7 separate regions of the Homo sapiens genome follow, and regions 2, 3, 4, 5, 6 and 7 are each linked to region 1. The links are contacts of gene promoters, found by promoter capture Hi-C in blood cells and fetal thymus (Javierre and others, 2016). All regions are on one chromosome and are shown on one strand. Each heading gives the region's core, a stretch centred on a gene start or on the middle of the fragment in contact. The rest is flanking DNA. Distances are from core to core; before and after follow the strand shown. Region 1 holds the start of FLRT2 (fibronectin leucine rich transmembrane protein 2). Region 2 has its middle 76 kb from the start of LINC02305. Region 3 has its middle 92 kb from the start of LINC02305. Region 4 has its middle 210 kb from the start of LINC02305. Region 5 overlaps LOC105370603 (a long non-coding RNA gene). Region 6 has its middle 530 kb from the start of LINC02305. Region 7 has its middle 570 kb from the start of LINC02305.

Region 1 (3,599 bases), core at 651-3,150:
ATTTCCTTCGCATCCCTGTTGTGTCTACCGCTTTCACGTATTTGAGAGCCTAAATCATGTTAAGACGACTTGGAGAAACGCCCGATTTGCCTCCCAAGCCACGCAAGGATCCACCCAGACGCACGCCCGCGCGGAGACGCACGCTGGCACACGCGCTCACACACGCGAGCACACACACGCGCACACTACCCGGTTCGTGCGCGCGGGTCGCTGTTCCTGTTGCATTATGCAAAGGTGGCTGGGAAAGCGCGTTGACTTACATTTACATAGCCCATCTTCTCCCCACAGTATGTGACTAATACGTATCCCGGGGAGGAGGGAGCGCGGCTGGGGGTGCTAATCGGAAGGGAACAGACAGTGAGTGCCATCTTGCTGGGAGGTTCCAGAAGCAAAGCGCCAACGACGACAGTAGCGGTGGCCTCAGCTCCACCAGTAACTGCCGCTGGCAGGAGCACCACACGCTCTAGGAGTTTCCCGGGTATCAAGTATGGGTCCAGCCCGTCCCAGTTATCCTCTTCCCCTATGGCTTCATTCCCGTTGTCAGTACCCCGACCTCAGCTTGCAACCTTGATCTTGGGCTTGATTATAAATGACGAAAGACCGCGGCAGCCTTCAAAGTGCGGGAGCGAGCCCCGTACTGGTCAGCGCGGCGGAGGGATCTTTCCAGGAGGCCCCAAGCCCCCAAGCCTGTGGAGAGACTTGGTAACAGCTGGCAAGGCCTGCTCCAGCCACCCTCGCTGGCTCCTTGCCCCTGCATTCAGCGCCTGAGGGCGTTATTCGCCCTCTCCCTGCGTCCCACGCAAGCGGCTCAAGGAACTCACTCGATCCGGATTCCGCCTCGTATGCTCTCCAAGCCTTCGCCACCTCCGCAGGCGCTCTAGAAAGGCGTGATGGCCCCAGCTCAGTGCCCGCCAGCCCGAAGAGGACAAGCAGGGCTGGAAGGGACTTGGTTTTGGAAAAAGCCCCACCCGCCCCCACCAACTGGAAGGAAAAGGAATTAGTATCCACCGCATCTGTTTAACTGCTAATAGATCCCAGATTACGGGCAGGTAGTAGGTTGGTGTCTTTAGATACAACAGCCTGATAATAACGCTGGTGACATTAACAACAGCTTGTGGAGGGGAGAGGGTTGTTACTGGTGAAAGTTAAGAGATTCAATCTAGGGAAGTAGGAGACTGAACTCTGACAAGGTTAGGGGCACTGAGAACCCCAATTTAGCATCGATGCATCTACCAGGCAAGAAAATTTGCGTTTTGACCCAGAACTCAGTCATGATGCTCCGTAGAGGAGGTGGATTCGACCAGCAGACAGATGTCCCCAAAGTCGAGAGAGAGCTAAGCTGCCTATTTTCTCTCCAGGTGAAAGACAAAGCCTAGAGCACCCCACTTAAGATGACCACCCCCAGCTCTTTCAAAAAAAAAAAATCCCCCGAAGAGACAGCGTGGTGCCAGCGTAGCAGCAGCTCGGCCGGTTACTGGAAACTTCACCTGGCAACGCAGCCCCTTTTACCTGACGGCTGCGTCTTCTCCTTGCAATGGGCTCATCCGAATCCGACAGGGTCAGGGAGGTGGAAAGGGAAGACGCTGGCGCGGCAGCAGCGGGGATCCCGGGGCATGGTATTGTTTTAGGGGTCGCCGCCGAGGTCCCTCCTGCCCATCGTTGAGAACTGCCACCCTGATCCCAGGGCTCGGTGGACACGGCGGCGGGAGCGGAGATGCCGCCTCGCCGCTGCTGGGCACCAGGGACGGAGGACCAGAGGCGCACCTCGGAAAGGAGTAGCTCAGCGCCTTGGCGCGGAGATTTGCGGGCACTGATGATATCTCGAGCGCTCGTTCCTCCGCGGTGACAATGGATAATGCCAAACGCGCAAGTGACGGCGACAGGTTTCGAACGTACAACTAACTACAAGGTACCCAGCCTGAGACAGTATGCTGCTTTTCCCCTCCTCCTCCTCTCCCTCCTACCAGGGAGGGAACTAACTTAACCCTGTGTGCGCCTGACACTCCCTAGAGAAGCTGGGATCGACTAGGAAACCGCAGGCAGCGGCTCCCGGGGGCGAGAGCTTTGTTCACGTGCGTTTCCAGTGGGTGTGTTGCTGTCTAGGGGCACTCGCGTGGCAAGACGCCCGTGGCTGGCTTCCAGCGCCCAAGATTCAAGGAAGGGAAGGAGCCCTAGCGTTTCATCCGGACCAGACCCAGCCCTCGGAGTCTATTTTTTGCCTCCAGTTACCGGATTTATTGAAGTTGCCAGCGAAGTTGGTTTTATTCCTTTACTTCTCTGCTCTCCGCCCCCGTCCACATCCCCCAACCCTGTATTATTTCCTGTCCTAGCTGCGCTTTAAAGATTCGGAACTTTTCACTCGTTCTAGCTACAGATTTTAACTGTGTTCCGTGTGCGAGACGAATTGTGGAGGGCACCCACCCACCCATGCCAAGTGTAAATGAAACCGCAAGAAAAGCTGCCTCCCACTCACCCATCCAGTGTCCGAGTAAGCCTAATGACACACATTCACATAACTAAGAAGACACGGGAAGATAGGGGTGCGGAGGACGGAGTTTGATGTGTGAATGGGAAATGGAGAGAGGGGACAGCGCGCGCGAGAGAAACAGCGCGAGCCTGAGCCTTAGAATGGAATAAACGGGAAACACACACAAGAATGACGATGCAAAAAATGTATCTAAGTCCCAACATTGACAGCAGAGGGTCAGCTTTAAGCGCCTACATTTTGATCCGCGAAATTTCCCAGCTTTTTTGGAGGCGGTTACATAGAGAACACAGGAGCCTCTGCCTTGGCCGCCCAGATGCTTTGCATTTTGTAAACAGCTTTGACTAAGTGCTCTGGACTTCCAAGAAGTTAACTGGAGTGGAAGGCGAGTCATATTGTGGATGCGGAATGGAAGCTTAGACAAGAAAAAACTGTCAGCAGAGCGCCTCTGCTCTCACCGTCACACCCAAATGAGCCAGGACGTCGCTCAGAGCGCAAACTGAGATCCACACAGGGACATCTTCAACCGAATCTTTCTTCTGTCTCCATTCCGGACTAAGGAAAGAAAGAAAGAAATACGGAGCCTTTATAGAGTATTCAGAGGCTACACACATGGATCTTGCTGAAACGGAGTTATTTAAAAACAGAGAAAGTGTGTTTTCCCATGAGATAGATGTTATAGTTTCTCTCTGAAACATACCCAAGTCTATGGGTGTCAATAATAGCCATTTCAAATGCCTCTCTGAGCCTTGCCAGCCCCAGAAGAGGCTGTGGGAATGCTGCTTCCAGCTTCCCCTGTGCAGAACTCCGTTGTAAATCCTTCTGAGTTTCCAAGGTGGCAGCAGAGCATAGGGATAGCTCCTCAAGCTCCAGCATCAACAAGGAAGATCACATTTTAGGACAAATACTCATCTACCTGCATTTAAACATCCATTTTCGTATGTAAGTGTACATAAGTATCCGCAGGAGGTTCTTCCTTTGAAATCTTGATCCAGGAAAGCAGCATAATTATTTCATCTTTAAGAACACATTTTAAAAAGGCAAAGCAGGATCTTTAAAGCAACAAAGGTTTTGCTTTCTGATTTATGCTGCTAGAAAATGAATGAGATTGAAA
Region 2 (3,599 bases), core at 689-3,188, 1.5 Mb after region 1:
TCATTGCATCTCCAGGAGGGTCTCTTGTGCAAACCACTTAAAGATGGCTCTAGAATGACTCATCTGCTTCTGCATCTCCCTTGCTCTCTCTCTATTCCACAAGAAACATCTGTCTATCACATAAGTGAAGCAAGTGTCATCTACTCTGGTGAAGCAAGCTGCTTCAGTTAGCTGCTCACTTGTGTGATTACTCCACTGTGACGCAGGCTTCAGTTCATTGGGTCCCGAAATTCCAGAGGACATAGACCAAGCTTTGCAATTAGTCCCATATATTTGAAGTGAGGACAGTCAGCATCTCTTTTCTTTTTCCATAAGAGAGGGGTAAGGAAAATCCAAAGATATTCCAACAGCTTTTTCTAAAGATATTCTCTCACCAAATGCAAATTCCCTGGCCATTATTCTTGGGCACTTTGAGTGGGTAACGAGTCAAGTATTTTAAAAGAACTTTTAAACTCCCTTGGTAGTGGTAGTAATTACTGACGTTTGCACAAAAATCTAGTTCTCCACCTCTCCCATAAAGTTCCTTCCCTCCATATCTTTCCACGCACATGGTAAAATTGCCCTCCCAGCTCTCTTACTGATTAGTGGAGTAACTAGGTGTAACTAGGTGTACCTAGTTCTAGCCAATGAGTTGTAAATAGAACTGACAAAAGTCACATATAGGCAGGAGCATGCAATACAGATGCAAAACCTACCAGGGCCCACTTTCTCTTTGGCATGACAACTGGCAATGTTCTAGACAAAGGACTTGCCTTCAGTTGAGATCTCAGAGTAGAGATGATGAAGAGAAAACCCCACCTAACTGGAAATACCAGACAACTTGAACAAGAAGGAATCCATTGCAGATGCACTACTGGAAGGCTGGGTCACTTTTTACTGCAGCATAACTTAATGAGCCCTAACTGATTTAGAATTTCTACAAATTCATCAAAGTGCCTCCCTTTGGGATGAGGGAGCCCTTATGTTGGTTTGTTTGCTTTCTCTCATTTTTGAGGTCTCTGCTAAAACTGAGGCAGAGTTCCATTTAGCATTCTTCAAGCACTTAAAATTGTGGTTGACAGCACTGCACAGATTCTGAAGACACAGTGCCTGGCTTCCAATCCTAACGAGATTGTGTAGTGGCTTTATGTCCTTGGACAAGATGTTTGACCACTCTGTGCTTCAGTTTTCTCATCTGCAAAACATGGATAATAGTAGTTCCTATCTCACGGGTTGTTATGAAGATGATTATACTTAACATTTTTAGTGGGTTTGGATTAGTGCCTGCCACATAGCAATCTTCTACATGCATGCTTACTAATAAGTGTGATATAGTTTTTAACGTCCATCTCTTTATCACTAGCAAGGTACAGCTGAAATGTCTCCAGCTTGCTGCTCTTTCTTCTCTTCAATGCTCATTGCTTCACTGAGGTGCTAAAGTCTGTCTCTGCCTGTCTGTGCTGAAAGGCCAGATCTTTGAGTCAGGGATTTATTATCCTTTGCTGTAGATTCTTAATTTCTCTATCATTTTTTTGCTTACAGTTCTAACATCAAATATTCCTTAGTTCTCTGATATGGTTTGGATATGTGTCCCCTCCAAATTTCATGTTGAAATGTAATCCCCCATGTTGGAGATGGGGACTGCTGGGGGGTATCTGAGTTGTTAGAGTGGATCCCCCATGAATGGCTTGGTGCCCTCCTCATGGTAGTAAGTGAATTCTTGCTCTGAGTTCATACAGTGGCTAGTGTTTAAAGGAGTCTAGTTCTTCTTCCTCTTCCTCTTGCTCTCTCTATCGCTGTATGATACATGGACTCCTGCCTCACCTTCTGCCATGATTTTAAGCTTCCTGAGACCTCATTAGAAGCCAAGTAGATGCTGGGGCCATGCTTGTACAGCCTTCAGAACCACGAGCCAAAATAAACCTCTTCTCTTTATAAATTATCCAGTCTCAGGTATCTCTTTACAGTGATGCAAATGAACTAACACAGTTCTCATCAAATCAATTTCTACAATTCTTGTTACTACAATTGCTACTTAGTTAGATCTACATAATGCAAAGCTATGGGAAGCTTCCTTGCTGTAGGCTCCACAAAACACCAGCGGCAGCTACTTTATTATGGGAATTGGACACATTTTTAAATTTGTGTTATTGTGTCTATGATCCACCATCACTTTGATTATAGGAGGGGTTAAATTGGTCTAGAATTCAGGGTGACAGGGGCACATGGAGCAACTTTCTGAATTCTGACAATTTGAATATAGCTTTCTTATTTTACTTTATTGAAATTACTACTATTGTTGAAATAGCAACTCTCTGCACAATGCTATGACACATGTTCTCTTGCTATATCTAACTTGTGTTTTTACCATTTAACTGTTTCATGGTTATCGTTAAGTAGGCAAGGTAGGCCTGGCTCTAGTATTCTGGAATTGGGTGATTAGATCATAGGAGATGACAGTATGTGAACTAGTGAGAAAATATACACCTCTTCTTATGTATGGTTCTTCTGTTTTAGATAAAGTATGTTATTTGTTGTTTTTATGTATTTTACAATTCTATTTTTACTATAATAATTCCCAAGCTGGGTGCAGAGGCTCACGCCTGTAATCTCAGCACTTTGGGAGGCCAAGGCAGGAGGGTTGCTTGAAGGCAGGAGTTCAAAACCAGCCTGGACAACATGGTAAGACCCCGTCTCTACAAAACAATACAAAAAAAAATTAGCTGGGCATGGTGGCATGCACCTGTGGTCCCAGCTACTTGGGAGGTTGAGGTGGGAGTATCACTTGAGCCCTGGAAGTAGAGGCTGCAGTGAGTTAAGATCATGCCACTGCACTCCAGCCTGGGTGACAGAGTGAGATCCTGTCTCAGAAAAAATAAATAAATAAGTAACTCATAGAATCTTATAATTATAATATTGTACTGGATAATAAATTATAAGCAATTTTACAGTGATGCAGGAGAAATATAATTTTTATGTGAATTATTAAAATATCTTTCTCTTTCATAGAAACTTAATAGAAATGTTTCTGTGAAATCTAAGATAACCTTGGAATGAGTCTATTCTCTTAGAGTATATGTTCTCCTTGGACATTTATTAGGGACTCTAACATTTTATTCTGCTGTAAATTTTAGTTGCTATCCTATTCTTTACAACCAACTTTTCAAAGTTTAATGTCAGTTCCTAATTTGACTTTAAACTTGGCAAGTTTCTGAGTCTATGTGATATAATACGAGTTTCAACTTCCCTCATTAATCTTTTCTGCTTTTGTTGAATTCCTTTGGGAAGCAACAAAGACAACAGGGATAAGCTGGCATAAATCGTAATTGTTATTTGTAGGAAGAAGATGTGCTGAGATTCTTGCTGAAAATGTGCTCTCTATAATCCTCAAGTGAAGAACAGTGTAGAAAAATACATGTGGAGGAGACAAATTTCTCCTTGAAATAGTTTGTTAAAGTCATTGGTTTATATTAATATGTCTTTTGAATATAACAATTATTCTATCTAATATTATTTAATGCATATAATCAAAGAAAAATAAGCAATAGAGCTGTGTTTCATTCAAATTTTTCAGCATGGAGTTTGAATTTTCCAAGCTAAAAACTTGGGATTTTGAAAGA
Region 3 (3,599 bases), core at 306-2,805, 1.5 Mb after region 1:
TACTCATCATTTTGGGACCAGATTTGGGGACGAGAACTTTCTCTTTCAGCATGAGCCAACTGCTAATCTAGGAAGTATTTGTCTGGTTTGTAATATTTTATGTAGTTGTTAACAGATATGACTTGAACATTTATTTTATAGAATTAACTGTTAATATTTTTCATTTCTCTCCAACAGTTTGAAAATCTGTACTTTTGCAATTGTATATTATATTACCCTAATTAAATATAAGCAAATTGTTTTTAGTTAAATAATCAGAACAAAGAAAGGTTTACTTTTTTGGAGAGCCTGAGTAGTATTCTTATCTGTGCCCATAAGATCCATATATTATTATAATTAAACTGAACTGGGATATGATAGATTTTGATATTTTTCTTTGACTTTTTCTGAGAGTTCTTCAGAAACTCCTAGAATCTATAAATAATATTTTTTTCAGTAGGAAAGCAAGTCATGTTCTTCATTATATATTTTTAAAAATATAATTCAGCTGTTCTCATTAAGTTGCTTCTACTCAATTAATATTTTCACTTTATTCTCCTTTAAGAGAAATCGTAACAGAAATTAATCCCTGATGACAGATTCTTAAGACTCAGCTGATGATTTATAATGATGAGAATTGTTCCAGAGACCTTAAATTGCCCATTCCACAAGGGTCTAAAATGAACTCGTCTCAGCTGTCTGGATCATAATTCCATTCACAGATAGTTTGACAAACTACAGCCCATAGGCCAAATCCCAGTTGCCACCTATTTTGTTAAGGCAAGTGATTGAAGAATGTTTTTCCCCATTAAGTGGTTGAAAAATGAAAGATTAGTATTTCATGATACATGAAAATTATAAAACATTAAGAGTTCAGTGTCCAAAAATAGAGTTTTCTTAGAACACAGCAATGCTTGCTCATGTAAATATTGACTGTTACTGTTTTTATGCTCCAGTAGCAAAGTTGAGCAGTTGTGATAGAGAACACACGACTAGAAGAGCCTAAAAATATTTACTACCTGGCCCTTTACAGACACAGCTTGAAGATTCTGTTACATAAGGCACTAAATTGGAATTAAATTCAGGAGATCTTAGACTTAGTCCTTGATCTGCCATGTGCTAGACACGTAACTTTGGGGAAAGTTTCTAACCATAGTGAGACTCAGAATTCTCATTGATAAGATGAGATAAACAGTAAATCTGAACTGTAGGGAGACAAATGGTGAAAGGGCCTGTTAGACCACAAAACAATGTAAAATGAAAGAAGATAACATTAAATTAGATGCACATATTCATTTGTACCAGGCAATTAAAACAAGTATAATGTGATCAAAGCTTTCCACAAGGTATGCATTCAATTTTAGAAAAGCAATTTTGGTTCAAGTACAAGAGAAAGAAAAAAAAATCTTACAGATTATCAAGTTCAACTCAATAATTCATCTAGTATAAGCAAAATTGCTACTTTCTTGATCTTTCCAAGGACCTTGCAGACAACTTGTGTAGTGAAATGACTATAAAGGTCAGATTCACCTTTTCACTTTAGACATGATGACAAAATATATGTGCGCATATAGACAGTGGGTATGGGCATTTTTTAATATATGCACATAAATGTACATGAGGAAGAGTACCGAAGGGACCCACTTAGACTTGATGCCTCTAACATTCTTCAATTAATTAAAGTGTCATTTCAGAAGCAACCAAGTTGGAAATCAATCACAGGAAGATTCACTTTCAGCAGGGGGCTGAGGGCAAATTTGTGTGTCTTTAAGTGGGTACTGAACTCTGTGTGTGTGAAGACAATTGAAGGAAGCTTCAGGAAGCCTGGATGCTGGACCCTTAGGCAGCCTGCTAGTAAGAGGCAGACAGACAGCCCAGGCTTTCCTTGTGCAATCACAGTTTTTCCGGTGACATTCCACTTTACAGAATGATGCCACTCTTGTCAATGAGCCAAATTCCCAGTTCGAGAGCGCCAATCTACTCTGAACAAAGAGAAGCACCTGGGGCATGCCTGTTTTGATAGCCTGCCTGGCTCCTGGAGTGGCTTGTGTCCAGAGAGGATGTGGATAACAATGCCTTTGACTTGGGTCCTTGGGGGTTCATGAAGGTGGAAAATTATAGGATCAGAAGGAAAACTGACTCCTGGGTTGGCTATAAACCCCAAGGCAAAATTACAGGATTAAGGACTCATCAGTAGGTCAGAAGTGACCCCTAGTGGGGTCTACAGCTTTAATCTCTTCAGTGAAAATTATCTCTGCCATAATACCTGTTTATGATACAGTAAGGAGGGACCACACTTACATTAGGCACCACTTGATGAAGGGAATAAAAAGAAAAAGAAAATGAGAAATAAATTAGAAATCAAAGTAAGGGGGAAAAAATTAAAAAGAGAAAGAGAAAGAGAAAGAAAACAAGACAGAAAAAACTCAAGTACCAGAAAAAAAAAAAAGGTAAGAATATCTACATTGTCTTCCTGATAATTTATTTCCCTTAGTGAAGCAGCAATTGATGACAAGCATTAAAGTAATATGACCATATCACTCTTCAATTCAAAATCCCCTCAGCACCTGATATTGATTTTAAAAGTAGAAACGATTCTCCTTTGCAAAGACTGCAGGATCTTACCTGCAGCTTCTATCTTGCTAACCCATCTTAACTTGTGTCTTTCTTGCTTATGAGCAACACTGCTTGTTTTTAGGTTCCTCAAACTCCTCTTCCCACCGAAGTACGTGGGCACTCACTGCTTCCTCATCCTGCAGTCATCCCACGGCTGGTTCCACCTTGTCATTTCATTTCAGCTTCAGGTCTACTCAGAGAGACTTTCTTCATCCAATCAAATTGAAGAAGTTATCCTCCCTCATCACCATCACTGCATCCTATTTGTTTCCTATAATTTATCTATCTAATAATCTCATGTAACCTAATTTGTTGTTAATATGTATGTTTGTCATTTCACTGAAATGCAAATTTGCTGAGAGCAGGGTCCTAGAAACATGCTAATCATGTAGCAGGTTCTCAGTATCATTTGTGGAATGGATGAATGAATAAATACTTGAAAAGAGTTGGTTATGTAGATATTTTTAAAAGTTTGATTTGAAAGTGACTTGGAAGCCTTTCCATCCAACCCTTTCTATTTTTATGTTACGACTGATAAAACTAAGACCCTTAGAATTTAAGTGAATTATACAAGGTCATATCATTATTTGTGTCAAAGATGGGAAGAACCACAATATTTCACTATATTTATTTTGAAATTTGTATATAAGTTTCTCATTCCAGAAGTGAAGCTGGATGAGTGATTCCATCCAGGAATGCTACAGTATGATAAACCTCAAGAAAGCTATTACACCACCTTGTGTCCTCTTTCTGTAGATAGAATATGGAAGAAGAGGGACGATGTCTAGCCAAATAAGGAACTGAAGGTAACATTTTGTTGTTATTGTTATTCTAGACAGGATTTGGTGAATATTAGTGGTAGAAAATGTTTGGTGGCATGATTCCGCTATTAGTGGGTTCCCAGAAGACTGAGTTCTTTCTTGTACAGTAAGGAGGGACCACACTTACATTAGCAGATCTAGGTAGATGGAAACTCAATATCTTCTCCCAAAAGTTGTTGTCTT
Region 4 (3,599 bases), core at 790-3,289, 1.4 Mb after region 1:
TTGTGTTTTTATTCCTGATGCCCAGAACAGCATCTGACACTCAATAAAAGCTCAGCAAGCATTTTATAGTTAAAAAAAATCATAATTCCAAAAATATGCCTAAAAACATTTATTTGATAAAAATTAAGGCAGGCCATTAATTTTAAGGATGCTAAATAATTAAAATTAGCTTATGCATATCTAAACAAGTGCAATATGTTAGGCAAGTTCACACTGAATCACTGTTCAACTATTGCAAGTTGCTTCTGAACACAACATAAATGATAAGTATTTAATAATTAGAACTGTCCAAAAATTGAAGACAACAGAGACAGGCCTATTTAGGTACTGAGTTCTTCATCACTCAAGGTTTTAAGCTGAAATGATGTAATCATCCTGGAGGCTGGAGTCAAGTCCACAAGCTATGGATAGTAGTAATTAGTCAGTTGGCTGCTAAACACTTTTCAACACATGTATTTTATAATTTATTGTTTTTTCGTTTCTTCCCATATCCAAAAAATAAGAGATGCTTTAGGTAGGATGTTAATTACAGACCTTTTCTTCCTTTGCAATTCTGAAAGCATTTAAAAATAACTAGTGGTAGCCTAGAGTAGGATTAGCCCACTACCTGTACCTGTTTTTGTAAATAAAGTTTTATTAGAACTCAGGTGCTCATTGTTTGTGTATTGTCAATGTTTTTCACTACAGTGACAGAGATGAATAGTTGCAACAGCCTCTATGGCCTTCAAAGCCAAAAGTATTTATTGTCTGGCCCTTTAATGAAAAAGGTTGCCAACTTCTGGTCTAGAAACCTACTTAAATTATCAACATGATTTTCAATAAACTATCGAAACATTATTCCCGAAACATAATAATTATTTTATGTACTTAAAGTATGAGATTGGGCATTGTAGGACAAATATAATTGATTTGTATTATTTGCCTATGAATAGCCAGGTTTTATACCAGTATGCCCAGGCTGAAATTGTTTTTAAGGTATACAAGCATATAGTCAACCAACCTGCTTATCTAAGTACAGATACTTTCATTAACATTAAACAAATTATATTCCCTAGTGGTTGACTTTTTACTCTCACAATAAAACATTGTCTTTGATCTGTGTGTCAACACCCTCATCTGTGTTTCAGTCAGGATGGTTCTAAGAATGCATAATCTAAAACTCTTTTCTCTAAAAGCATTTCTAATTTAGAATGTTCTAATAAAAGAACAAATCTTAAGAAATTACTCTGACAGTCTATTTTCCAAAAAAATGGTACCCTATAACTTTTTCATTTTAAATGTTTTTATTTTGATTTTTTGTAACAGAGATAGTAAACTTTATATTTCAATCTGCGTTTCAATAAAATAAAAAATCTACATGAAGTCATTCAGCTGAATGAAAGTTTTCTAAATTATATGTGCCCTCTTTCCTACTCTTATGCAGGGTTCGGATATTCATAAATATTTAAAAAGTCAGGTTTTCAAATCCAATATGACTGCAATCCATTTTAACAGTGAGGACTGCAATCCATTTTAACAGTGAGAACTGAATTGTTTTTGCCCCCGTAGGTGAATAAGATAGACAAGCTAATTGCCTTTTAAACTTACAGATTTTCAGCGCGAGATCTCATTATCATTTGCTTTCAGGAATAAATTTCTCTCAAATTTTGATGGAGAGTATAGCTTCTTTTATCATAAAATCGTGAACCCTTTACCTTCTCTGTCTTTCTCTAAATTCCTATGCAGAGTACTTGATAGAAGCCTGATTTTGCTCATCACTGTTTCAAGTGATTCTTAGAATAACTTGAGAGAACAAGGAGCATACCACATTAGCATAACAGAATACTTGAAAAATCAATGACTGTGTCTAAGTAGAAATGATTGTACCCCATAACCAATATTCTAGACATTTAGAAAGGTTATATAGAATTCATTTAAAACTCTATTCATAAGAATAATTATAAATGAAAAGCTTCTATTCGTCATATATAGATCCTTTCTGTCATTTACGTATTTTTCAACTGGTATAACAAAAACAATCCCTCTGGGAAGGTAGCCTGGCTGAAAAAACATAGCAGTTTGACTCTGCAGTTAATTAACACAAATTCACACACACTGAGATGCATTCAGACACACATACAAGCTTGGGGGCCCGCACACCAATTTTATATGTTTTGGGGTAGGTGGTCTGGATTTCAGGCTAGGGCAGATTGAGATAAACAGATTTTAGGAGGAGAAACATTCAAGGCACAAAAGGAATAGAGAAAAAGCATTGTAAAGATGTGTTCAAGGGATGAGCATTTACCAAAAAATGATAAGGATAAAGAAAGAGAGTTAAGGGCTATATAATTATGATTTGGATTCAGCCTGAGTATATTTTAATTTTGAGTTGGGGGGTGTGTGTTAATTGTTTTTACACTATTGTCTGAATTTTAAAACTATTTCTGAAGCAGTCTTCAATCATTTTCTAGATATGTATAAGTGTGTTTTGTTTCAACTACGATTACTATACTTATGACATGCAGTTTGTTAGAATCCTTTTTGAGTTTTATAAGTACATCGTGTATGTAAGAGACAGAAGTTATGTGTGCTCAAGCAGGTAATTGACAAACTTGAGCTTATTCATTTACTTTCAATATAAAAAAAAAACTAAAATGTGTAGCACATTGAGGTTATTTATCTGGATTAAAGAAGGTTATGTGTGTACACATGCACAGTAAATGCTCTTATTTTATTTTTTTATTAGATGGCTACTGAGTGTGTTAGTTACAATTACTTTTTTTTCAGAAACAGAATTTGTAGTCTCATGAGCATGTATTTTGGAGGAAACAGATAAGAACACTGGGGGCCAGATTATTATTAGGTCTGGCTATCTCCAGAAATATATATTTGAAAAATACGATTTCAGATACTAAAAGTGAAAATAGGAAGGTCAGCCTAGCCTTGTTATGGTGGTGCTATTGTAGAGTGGTTGCAGTGATGAATGGAGTTGGAGAGATTTGAGATTTATTTTGAAGATAGAAAAAGAGCTTGAAAAAACCAGCATCTTACATAACTTCACTTTATTTTTTTGTATTTGATAACCTAGTAAATGTCATTTAATGTGACATAGGAGAATTTGAGAGGGCCAGATAATTATTTTAATGATTGTTTCAAGTGTTTGGTGTGTGTATGTGTATAATGTCAATTCTGACATGTTAATTTTAAGATATCCACAAGACAGACAAGTGTAGATGTCGAATAGCTTGAAATAAATGACTGTGAATCTCAGATGTAGCATCAGGGCTGCAGACACTTTGGAACATGTCTCATGGTAAGGAGAGTCATGAGAATTTGTAAGATTACCTAGATTAGTGTCGAGAAGAAGGATGAGAGGGCTGAGAATTAAGTCCAGAAATTCTCCCAAATTTAGTAGCGGGGTACAAAAATAAACAAGTAACAAAAGAGAAGAAGTTAATGAAGTTAACAAAAACCCAGGGACAATTGGTGTTTCGTGACCCCAAAGCAAAGACTGTGTCAAGAGCTGGGAGTGGGCTACGGCAGTGGGAGAAGGATGGTCATTATTGCTAAATGCTTCAAAGAGTTAGAACCACATGAAGTCAAAAAAATTTTCATTGAAT
Region 5 (3,599 bases), core at 301-2,800, 1.3 Mb after region 1:
TGGATGGTGGTGGTGTACATGTTCATAAGGGAGAAATGTAACAAAATTATTTGGATAGAGAATTAACAGAAATATGCTTTGTAGTATCTGGAAGGGAATTCAATCAGTGAATTCAAAGAGAAAATAACTTCTTTAATTACAACATCTAGATAAACCTCTCAATATGTTTTATTTTTCTAAAAACCCAGTAATACTTGTCTATATTAATTATTTTAATATATATACCAAAGCTTTAAAATGAATAATTTATACTATTGCCATAATCTCAATATTCTGATTACACAATCAAATACTAAATATGTTATTACAACAGAATACAACACACCATTAATTCAAAGCTTAAAATGCTTTTAAAGATTTGAATTCTATAGCTTTCATTATTGTTGTTATTTGTTTACTTCATCATTTGTAAATTTCAAAGTCATCTAGGTTTGCAGCAAATGTTCTGAGGCAGTTACTAACTACCATCTCTATTGAGAAAGTTTGAAGGTCATGGCATTTAATAGAAGCCCAAGTTCCATACTGGATTCCTTCCAAGCTGTTCTCATTCTCAAAAGAGGGAACTAAATCCATGTTTTTGTGCTAGCATAAATTCTCCATATTTCTGAATCAAATGTGGTACTACAATTTCCCTTGACATTAGTTTCTACCTTCAAACTGGAGTGGACAGAAAGGTTGTCATGGTAATGGTGTAGTATAAAACTAAAAGGAGGATGACAGTGCTTCCAGAATGTCTTCTTTTGTCTTAACGTATTGTCAGCATCTTTAGGGACATAAGCATCTTCTTCAGTTTCTGAATAAGTAGCCTTGTTGTGATTACACTTTGAATACTTGTTAAAGAAGCATAGAAATGATTGCTTCTTCATTGAAACAGTTAGGGCAGATGATTTGCAGTTATATTATTTCTTCTATTAAACAACAGGTTATGAGCCTACAGGGATGAGCTACTCTGGGTATGAAATTCAAGTAAATTTAATGCATAGTAGGGAATACTAAATACAGTATTTACCTGAAAATCCATCGTTCTATTATGAGATCTTTGCAAAATAGAGAAAGCCAACAAGAGAGAGTTGTTTTTTTTGCAAATCCTGTCTTGTACTTCAGTATCTCAAAGCAGTTCAGTAGAAATCATCCGTCTACAGGAGAATTAAGTAGCTTATAAGCATAGTTTTAGTTTTGATTGCCCTAGTAACTATGATGATAGTCCCTCTTGCTACTAACACTTCAAAGACTCATCTATTCTCATTTTCTTTTTTTCTTTTTCTTTTCTTTTTTTTTTTTGTTCGTTTTTTTTTTTTTTTGTTTTATGAGATGGAGTCTCACTCTGCCGCCCAGGCTGGAGTGCAGTGGCGCGATCTTGGCTCACTGTAAGCTCCGCCTCCCGGGTTCATGCCATTCTCCTGCCTCAGCCTCCTCAGTACCTGGGATTACAGGACCACGCCCGGCTAATTTTTTGTATTTTTAGTAGAGATGGGGTTTCACCGTGTTAGCCAGGATGGTTTCTGTCTCCTGACCTCGTGATCCGCCCGCCTTGGCCTCCCAAAGTGCTGGGATTACAGTCCTGAAAAAGAAGAAAATTCACAAATTATGAACCCAGTGTAGGATAATAAATGGCTATATGACCAGGAATGCTAAGACAAGACAAATTAAGAGGTTTCAATGACATTAAAGAAAGGACAGAGATAAGTATGCTGAGGGCAAGATTAAGGTATGTGGTCCACAGCAAAACGTGCATGCCCTTGTTTGATATAGGGAGATTGTAAATCAGAATCTGGGAAGGGTAGTTTCTCCTTCATGACAGTTATACTTTTCAAATTAAAAGATCAGAAGTCGGGAAAAATCACAAAGAACCATGAACTGAAGAGGGAGAGCTGAGTGAGCAGGAAACAGCTGTGATATGGCCGACCCAGGAAACCTTGGGAATTCCCAAAGGAGGAAATTATCTTCCACCGTCAGGATGTTTCATGAGGCTTAATGCAGGATTACTTTTCACTGGGAACTAGCCTTGAACTTGGGAGAGGAAACAAGTAAATTTTAGCTTCATACTGAATGTGAAGCTAAAAGGAAATCAAAACTGAGGCAAAGAATAATGCCTTAAATATTTGTGGTTAAAACTTGAGTGAGGTTACATGGACTCCTTTTTATCACATTTATATTTTTACCAGATTCATTAATTACTTAGTTATCCATTGTTCCTCCATTAACGCTTTCACTAATTATAGAGCTCGCTCAGAGTTTTGCTACATAGATATAGTGTCTGCAATATCTTAACAATATACTTTATTAGAAACATTATGCAGATAACCTGTTTTAATCCCAGTTCTGCCAATTTTGCCTCTCTCTGCTTAATTTTTTTTCATGTGTGAAATGTGAATAATATAGTGATGTCAAGGCTAAGTGGAAATTATTTGAGATAATTTATATCAAAAGCTCAGGCTTATCAAGAACTTCCCACATTCCAAGCACTATTCAGTGTATAAAGAAAACATATGAGAAACTTGGCTTTGAGAGGTTTATATTTCATACTTGCAAAATGTTTTTCTTTTTGATCTTGAAATTAGTGAAGTTTTCCAGGGCACTGTCTTTACTTTATACCCCCCGTTCCCCTGGAGCTAGCTAAATGTACAGCAAATAACAAGTATTCGACGGAATAACTTTGAGTTGCTCAATGTCCTTGTGAGGTAAATTGGGAAACTGAATAATTTCTGTTAGTCCATCCAAAGAGATCAGTACAGGTTATCAAGGGTCACACAACAAGCTTATGGTGAAGGCTGGTCAGAAACACACTCCTTCAGATTCCAAAATTAACAAACACCCACACTACTCATGGTTAATATTATAGGAAGATACTTCAGCAGAAAGGCAGCATTGAGAAATTTGGGCTTTGGAAGAGATAAGCATATCATCTTTGTTTTAATGATGAATTGCAACAGAGAGTTCCTAAGATAAGCATCTCCCATAAGGAGGGACATTGCTCAATCTGGTGAGCAAATGTGCAGACAGTGCATGATTCTGTCTCTTTATGCATGCAATACTCCCAAGACCTCCAATTAGGCAGTTTCTTCCTTGCTAATGGGTAAAATTAGTAATGCTTTATGTAAAACTTAAAAACAAAATTAATAATTCACAACTGTGTTCTAACTGCTAAATAAAACTTTATAAACTGTATTTTTAGGCACCTAATGTTTAGTCTATAAATGCTATCTTGTTCATAGGGAATATGCATGCATATATTGGTCCTTTAAAGTTATTTATTCATTAAAACTAAAATGCAGGCTGTTTTGCCTATACTCCATGTGGCATACATATACTGTACAGAATATAGTTTTGAGATCAGAAGGGTTGTAAGCCATTTAAATTGAATTACACTTTTATTTAGCTAGTGCAGAATAAAATTGGGAAGAAAAGTGATAATCTTTTCCTCTGTCTTATTTTAATTAAAATGCACATATAAGATTTGATCTGAGAAATTGAAGACACTTTAGAGTTCATCAAGTTCAACCTCCCACTCAGTGCAGAAAGGACCAGTATAATAGTTTTGATAGGTGTTCATTCATCTTCAACTTCAACTCTTAAGTATCTCCTTAGCTCACATATGC
Region 6 (3,599 bases), core at 348-2,847, 1.1 Mb after region 1:
CTATTAAAAATACAAAAAATTAGCTGGGCGTGGTGGCAGGGAACTGTAATCCCAGGTACCGAGGAGGCTGAGGCAGGAGAATCGCTTGAACCCAGGAGGCGGAGGTTTCAGTGAGCCGAGATTGTGCCATTGCACTCCAGCCTGGGAGACAAGAGTGAAACTCCATCTCAAAATAAATACATACATACATACATACATACATAAAATCCCTACTCCCCTTTCTCTCTCTGGAACACAATTTGGCTGAATCTGTGTCTCCCAAATGACAGTTCCTAAAACCTGAATAATGCCTTGCCTCACTGCTTTGCAGTCTGGTCTTTTACCTTTTCTTGGTTGACAACTGTTTTAATTCCTTCACAAAAGTCTGCTCAACTTCCATTAATTTTCCAGCTTGGGCTAACACCTCAAAATCTTTCGATCAATTCTATATGGGCATGAACATGTACACTGAAATTAGTGGGAGTTCTCAGAATAGATGAGGCAGGAGCAAGACCTATTAAATTTTGAGCATCGTGTCAGTGAGGGTTAAAGAAGATTGCCTTAGACTACTGAAAAAGAGGTAAGACAGAGAAAATGGGTATCTGAATAGTGATTTATTATTAGTAATAAACTTGGCCAAGAGACCAGCAGGCCCTAGAATTAATCTTACCCAGGAAATCGCGATGACAGTTCTCTCAGAGCTGGTTTTGAGCAAAACCAAAAGCTTCCTGAAGAGCCAAGGAGAGGTATGTTCCAAATGTAGCTATGGAAAAGTAGGCCAGTGGATCAGATGCTGGCTTTTGAAGAGCAAAACAATGTTAGGGAAGGAGAAGTGTGGCTTATGCATAAAGAACTGTTTCTATGCACTGTGGATAACAAGCAAAGATGAGATTTAATACTTATACACATGAGAATGCATATCGATGACATATCATGAAATGTAAAGACAGCACTTGTAAGTATTTGGAGAGCACCTGCTCTGTGCCTGCCATTGGGGTGGAAGTGTCAGCATCTTCTTTTTGACATTTCCTAGTGTATTAGTTCATGTTCAGCCTCAGACTTAAAACCAACATGAAAACGACAGACTGAGAAGCTTGCCTTTACATATACAAACAGTGATATATGTTGGCACTTCGGGGCAACATTTGTTCTCTGTCAGCACTTCATTGACGACTTAAAGTTCCTTTATGTTGACTTTGGCAAGGAGAGGGCCAACAAAAGCTAAAACAATAGATTGAAATGCGTAATGCATTATCCTTGATTGTGTTACTATATTTGTTTTTCCCTTGGAGTAGCCAAAGCTGCCGCAGAAGCTGAAACAGTTGAGCTCTTGTTAAGCTATCTGCACAATGCCTAAACAGTTATTGAAAAGCTAAAAAAAAAAAATTGTGTATTCAACCAGTTTCTGCCTCAGGACAAACGAATATTTAGCTCATCTTTAGTATCACATTACTCCCAAACTAGAGTAGAATCTAATCAATTGCAGAAAGCTGAGTATAATATATAAATTATCTCCAAAGTTATTTAAAACAAAACTTATTACTGATTCGGAATTGCATATGCATTCATTTAATTGTATATATTGGACAAAGTTTCCTTAGAAAATAAAAGAAATGATTTATTTAAAAATAAGTTTGTATTAGGTTGAAAGGCCCCAATTCAGTTTTTTATTTTGAAAATCATTAATCACATGCATGTTTGCTATACAAAGTTAATATGAACATAATTAAATATCTTAATCTTTTAAAAGGCAAATAAACTATTGAGTAAGATGAATGGAACTTCCAGTATTTAAAATGCAATTGTAGTTAAGCATGTGTTTTTCTGTCTTTGAAGAAAATTATCTTTTTTGACTCATAATTTCTTTGGCATACAACTTATACAAATTAAATTGATGTTGCACTAGGCTTTTTATATTGTGTATGGATTTTAAAATAAAGGAAGATAACATAAAAATAAAGGTTTTGTATGTTCCTTTTAATACATTTGAAAAAAAGTTTTTAAAAAAATTAATCACAAATTGAGTCCTTAGATACTTTATGCATTAAAAGTCCCTGCTGACTTCTATGAGGTGTGAACTTATCCAGATTGTCAGCTTTGTTAATAATAAAATGCTAAAAAAAAATTGCTAAATTGAAGCTTTAATAGGTATGCAAATCAGGAAAACGCAAAATGTTTAAATGTGCAAGTGCATGGTTTCCTATAAAAAGCACTAAATTCAAAGTTACTCTCTCTTTTCTTTTTCTGGAAGTTATCATAATTAACTAAAAAGTCACAAGAAACATTTGTGACTATAGCTTAAGCTTATTTTTCACATATCCATCACACATAATGAGCTAAGGGACTTTTCTCAAATGTTGTGATTAACATTCACCTTTTCATGAACCCTATGCTTAGAAAAATATCAAAAAAGAAAAATTTCAGGAAACGACAAAACACAACAATAGGTATTTAAAGTCCTTATGTATAGGGACCTTAATTATATCAACAATGTGATCATCAGTGAACATTATTCCTTAGAGGATGCTCATGCTGCTTAATGGACTACGAGAAGGCTTTCAAAGAGCCAAACCTACTTATCAGCCTGGAGAAAGGTTTGCTGGGAATCATTGCTTAATAGACACAGCTTTCTCCTTTGCCAGGAACTTGATTTTTCAACACATTTCTCTAACAGATAGTGCCTTCAGAAATACACAGTTGTGTCCCATTGTGGAGGGCTGCAAAACTGTGACTGTAGAATGACATTCTCAAGTGCCACTGTGCCTCAAATCCAGCACTCAGTAAACATTTCTGACTTTCAGCTATGCCTTAGCCTTCCTAAGCAAGCGTGGAAAAGAAATAAATACTAACTCACATCATATTTTAGTGTGAATGTATTCAGAATTTTTTCCTTTATTAAACAAAAGGGACTATGACACACTGGTGCTACTGAGGAGAGAAAAAGAGCAGGTGTCTGGGAAAAGAGAGTCAAAGTGCACTGAAAAGAGCAAGACATGACTCTACGGGTGTGCCCTTTCCATAGTCCACAGTTTTGCAAATGGCTAACTCATAATGGAAAGACAAAATACTGCATACTTATATCATGACCCTGTTTGAGAGGCAATGCACAGCTATATATTAATGAGGATAACGCTGCTGAATGTATGAAATAAATAGACAATAAAAATAGCTAAATGTGACTCTCAATTGTTCTTTCTGAAATGTAATATGGATATAATTATGAACACTGAAAATACACATACAAGATCATTTTTGGTATAAGGTGTGATGTAGTTTTTTTTTTTTTCTTTCTTTCTTTCTGTCTTTTCTCCCTTGCTCTCATTCTACACAAGCAGATAATTGACTTCTTTCTTGTCTTAAGGAGAGGTGTGTGGTTGGGTAAAGAACATAAGTTGGCTAAAACAGTCTTTCTTACCTTTGAAACCTGTATTTTTTTAATTTTTTTTATTATTATACTTTAAGTTCTGGGGTACATGTGCACAACGTGCAGGTTTGTTACATAGGTATACATGTGCCGTGTTGGTTTGCTGCACCCATCAACTCGTCATTTACATTAGGTATTTCTCCTAATGGGCAACCTGTGTTATTTTTAATGTATAAGCCTATTGAAAAGATCATAT
Region 7 (3,599 bases), core at 786-3,285, 1.0 Mb after region 1:
AAGTTCGTTGAAATATCTCAACTCGTATTCTCTGAAAGCTTAACACTTTTTAACTTCATGGTTCAGTGGGGATTGGAGTCAATATGCACATGAAAAAGTTTATCTCAACATTAATTTTTAGAAGAATAAAATAATTAAGGGTCAAGGGGCATTAGTTTTAATGGAAAAAATAGAGTCCATATGAATCTAATCTGCTTTTCCTCTCTCGTAGTCAGACAAGCACACAACTTTCTTCAAGCTAATTTCTTCTCCTCTCTGCAACTGATGTTGTTCCAAAAAATGATTTTCAGGGCTCAAACAACTAGAAAAATGTACATTGTTATATTAACTACAATTAATATGGCAAATATAATCATTGGTTCTAAAATCACTAAATGAATGCTGTGACCATTGCAAGGATTAATTATGGCTATGAATCAGTGTGGGGAGAGGGTGTTGGTGAAATTAATTAATACCAGGATATTTCCACAAAATACTACAGTAATCCCAGCAAAGAACTGGGCTACGCTTTTTAAGAATTCATGACTTCACTTTTTAGGTAAGATTAGAAAGAATACATTATTTTGCTCAAAGTGGACACCTAAAGAAAGTCCATTTCAACAAGCTATGGAAGATCAAAAACAACTTAATGATATTCTAGTGACCTGGCCTATAAAATTGTGATATACTGAAACATTATGTTTGCTCCACCAGAGCTCTCATGTCAAGAATCTTATGGGTTACCTCTGCCAGGATGAATTTCTGTGCATATCTCATATGACTAGGGCTAGTTTCATGATATTAATAAAAAAATCAGTGTAACTGGCAGTCAAATAGAAAAACAAAGGGAAAATGAAGGATCCAATATTTTTAAAGTAAGAAAGGATGACCAGGGGTGAGATGCCAGGAGGAACAAACCATTGCCTAGGTAGGGCAGTACTAAACATGGAAGTCCTACATACTTTTCTTTTCCAATATTTATTTAGTGCACATTTACTGGTGCCAGCCTTATGGTAGGACAGCACCAGCAACTGAAAGATCAAATCCTCTCCTTATAGTTAAGCTCATAAGAGGGACACACACACACACACACACGTGTGTGTACACATGTATAAATATCCTAATATATGACAAGTTTTAGAACTGAGACACAATCCCACTGCTAGGAGTGTGCTAAAATCAGAGTTACAAAACTCTTCAGGGAGTTGAGGAAGGCTTAAAGGGTTTTAACATTTTAGGTGGCTTCACAATCTGCATAAGAGCTATTTTAAAAGTTTCACTTGATGCCTTTTTTATGCATACAGAAAACAGCACAGATTACTTGATGAATTTATAGAAAATGTACCCAACTGTGTTAAATACTACCATGATGAGGATAACAAACATTATCAGCACTCCAGAAGCCTCAAGAGTTCCCATATATAAATGTTCCCTTTCTCCCAAAAGATAACTCCTATTCTGACTTCAATATTTGTCAGGTGGAGAAAAGAGATCAGTGGAGAGTAAAAGAATCTAGGCAGAGAAAATGCCTAGTTCCCATATCAGTAGATAAGAAATGGAGATAACACATCCTGGAAATACTGGGCATGTAATGCATGTGGGGTGGGGGTAGGATAATCCATGGGCCTAAGAACAGTTTGAAAAATATTAATGCTGTACTATTTTATTTATTTTATTTTATATATTTTTTTTAGAGACGGAGTCTCGCTCTGTCACCCAGGCTGGAGTGCAGTGGCGCGATCTCAGCTCACTGCAACCTCCACCTCCCGGGTTCAAGCATTTCTCCTGCCTCAGCCTCCAGAGTAGCTGGGACTACAGGCTAATTTCTTTTGTATTTTAGTAGACACGGGGTTTCACCATGTTGCCCAGGCTGGTCTCAAACTCCTGAGCTCAGGCAATCCACCCGCCTTGGCCTCCCAAAGTGCTAGGATTACAGACATGAGCCACCTCGCCTGGCCAGCATTTTATTTTATTTATAGTGTATCATACAGTGAAATAGACTAATTTTTTTGGTGAAAAGTTTTGTGAGATTTAGTAAATGTATAGATTCATGTAACGACCATCACAATTAGTATTTAAAGCAGTTCATCACTTTCCCATACTTGCCTTACACTCTTGCTTTAGAGTCATGCTTTCTCCTGGCCTAAAATTCATGAATCAATGGTGAGTCCTTCACTACTATATTTTGACCTTTTCAAGAATGACATATAAGAGGAGTGTTACAGTATGCAGCCATTTGAGCACAATACATTCAAGATTCATCCAAGTTATTTGGGGTATCAGCAGTTCATTCCCTTTATTGTTGAGTGATATTTCACTTAACGGATATACCACAGTTTCTTTATCCATTCACTTAGTGGAGAACATTTGCGCTGTTTCCAGTTTTTGGTGACTACGAATGGTGTTGATATAAACATTCCTATACAGATTTCCATGGGAACATAAGTTTTATTTCTCTAGGGTAAATAATCAGGAGTGAGATTGCTAGATGATGAAGTGAATACTTATTTAACCTGATGAGAAACAAATAGTTTTGTGAAGTCGTTTCATCAGATCTACTTCGTGTATTTGGAATCTCTGTTGCTAGGTACATATATGTTTATTATATATTAATTGCCATGTCTTTTTGTGAAATGAGTCTTTTATCATTAGGCAAGAATCCCTCTGATACTACTAATACTCCTTCCTCTGAATTCTACTTTGTCTCATATTAATACAGGGGTGTGAGCTTTCATTCAGGTTTGCATGGTGTATCATTTTCTATACTTTCATCTTTATTCTAATTACGTAATTACATTAGAGATGAGTTTCTTGTATACAGCATATAATGGAGGCATTTTCATCCATTCTAATACTCTGTCTTTTAGTTAGTATGTTTAGATATTTAATGTGATTTTTGCTATGTTTAAATTGAAGTCTACCACTTTATTATTTGTTTTCCACTTGTACTCTAATTGTTCATTCTCATGCCTTTGGGGAGTTACGTAAACGTTTTTTGTCTTCCATTTAGATTTTCTAGTGCATTTTTTACTGCATCATTTTTAATAGTTATTTTCATGGCTGCTCTAGGGACCATAATATATAAATTTTTAACTTTTCACATTCTACTTAGACTCAATATTTTACCATTTCTAGTGGGAACGTAAAACCTTACTACAATTTGGGTCCTTTTAACCCCTCCCCTTTATGTTACATATTATATCTCTGTACATTTAAAAACTCCAAGAGGAAATATTTTAACTTTCGCTTTCTTCAACTGTCAAATATATCTTAAGGAACTCAAGAGAAGAAAAATAGTCTGCTAGATTTACCTAGATAATTACCATTTCTACTGTTCTGCCTTCATTTCTCAGGTTTCAAATATTATTCTGGAATCACTATGCTTCTGTTTGAATAACTTCCATCAGCAATTATTTTAGAGCAGGTTTGATTTCCTTTACTGAGAGAATATTTAATTCACCTTTATGTCTGAAAGATATTTTTGCAGAATAGTGAATTCTGTGTTGACGATATTTAAATTTTATTTCAGTATTTTATAAATGTCATGCAATTTCCTTCTGACTCATGATTTCTAATCAGAAATTTGTGGCATTCAAATCATTGCTCTCCCATAGGTAATG

Evidence for each region. The method cuts DNA at HindIII sites, captures the fragments that hold promoters and counts their contacts. A CHiCAGO score of 5 or more calls a contact.
Region 2: a fragment that was not itself captured here is called in contact with the fragment with the promoter of FLRT2 in region 1 in 1 of 17 cell types (M0 macrophages); the score reaches 9.7 in M0 macrophages.
Region 3: a contact is called between a fragment that was not itself captured here and the fragment with the promoter of FLRT2 in region 1, in 1 of 17 cell types (endothelial precursors). The highest score is 32.9, in endothelial precursors.
Region 4: a fragment that was not itself captured here is called in contact with the fragment with the promoter of FLRT2 in region 1 in 1 of 17 cell types (endothelial precursors); the score reaches 6.8 in endothelial precursors.
Region 5: a fragment that was not itself captured here is called in contact with the fragment with the promoter of FLRT2 in region 1 in 1 of 17 cell types (endothelial precursors); the score reaches 5.4 in endothelial precursors.
Region 6: a contact is called between a fragment that was not itself captured here and the fragment with the promoter of FLRT2 in region 1, in 1 of 17 cell types (endothelial precursors). The highest score is 5.4, in endothelial precursors.
Region 7: a fragment that was not itself captured here is called in contact with the fragment with the promoter of FLRT2 in region 1 in 1 of 17 cell types (endothelial precursors); the score reaches 6.5 in endothelial precursors.

What each region holds. Positions count from the first base shown.
Region 1 is chr14:85,528,445-85,532,043 of GRCh38, reverse strand. It overlaps FLRT2 (fibronectin leucine rich transmembrane protein 2), which reads right to left and starts at 1,900. Exons shown (of 2, transcript NM_013231.6): 1 at 1,510-1,900. It overlaps FLRT2-AS1 (FLRT2 antisense RNA 1), which reads left to right and starts at 385. Exons shown (of 2, transcript NR_184170.1): 1 at 385-3,427. The HindIII fragment of the contact is 5,870 bases long and covers 1-2,902 here.
Region 2 is chr14:83,989,563-83,993,161 of GRCh38, reverse strand. No RefSeq gene overlaps it. Among named protein-coding and RNA genes, the nearest start is that of LINC02305, 76 kb to the right of the region's middle. The HindIII fragment of the contact is 227 bases long and covers 1,825-2,051 here.
Region 3 is chr14:84,005,323-84,008,921 of GRCh38, reverse strand. No RefSeq gene overlaps it. Among named protein-coding and RNA genes, the nearest start is that of LINC02305, 92 kb to the right of the region's middle. The HindIII fragment of the contact is 478 bases long and covers 1,317-1,794 here.
Region 4 is chr14:84,123,936-84,127,534 of GRCh38, reverse strand. No RefSeq gene overlaps it. Among named protein-coding and RNA genes, the nearest start is that of LINC02305, 210 kb to the right of the region's middle. The HindIII fragment of the contact is 171 bases long and covers 1,954-2,124 here.
Region 5 is chr14:84,271,765-84,275,363 of GRCh38, reverse strand. The region is part of intron 1 of LOC105370603 (a long non-coding RNA gene); the gene reads left to right. Among named protein-coding and RNA genes, the nearest start is that of LINC02305, 360 kb to the right of the region's middle. The HindIII fragment of the contact is 2,420 bases long and covers 341-2,760 here.
Region 6 is chr14:84,440,307-84,443,905 of GRCh38, reverse strand. No RefSeq gene overlaps it. Among named protein-coding and RNA genes, the nearest start is that of LINC02305, 530 kb to the right of the region's middle. RefSeq lists an enhancer at 938-1,509. The HindIII fragment of the contact is 1,046 bases long and covers 1,075-2,120 here.
Region 7 is chr14:84,478,724-84,482,322 of GRCh38, reverse strand. No RefSeq gene overlaps it. Among named protein-coding and RNA genes, the nearest start is that of LINC02305, 570 kb to the right of the region's middle. The HindIII fragment of the contact is 3,990 bases long and covers 41-3,599 here.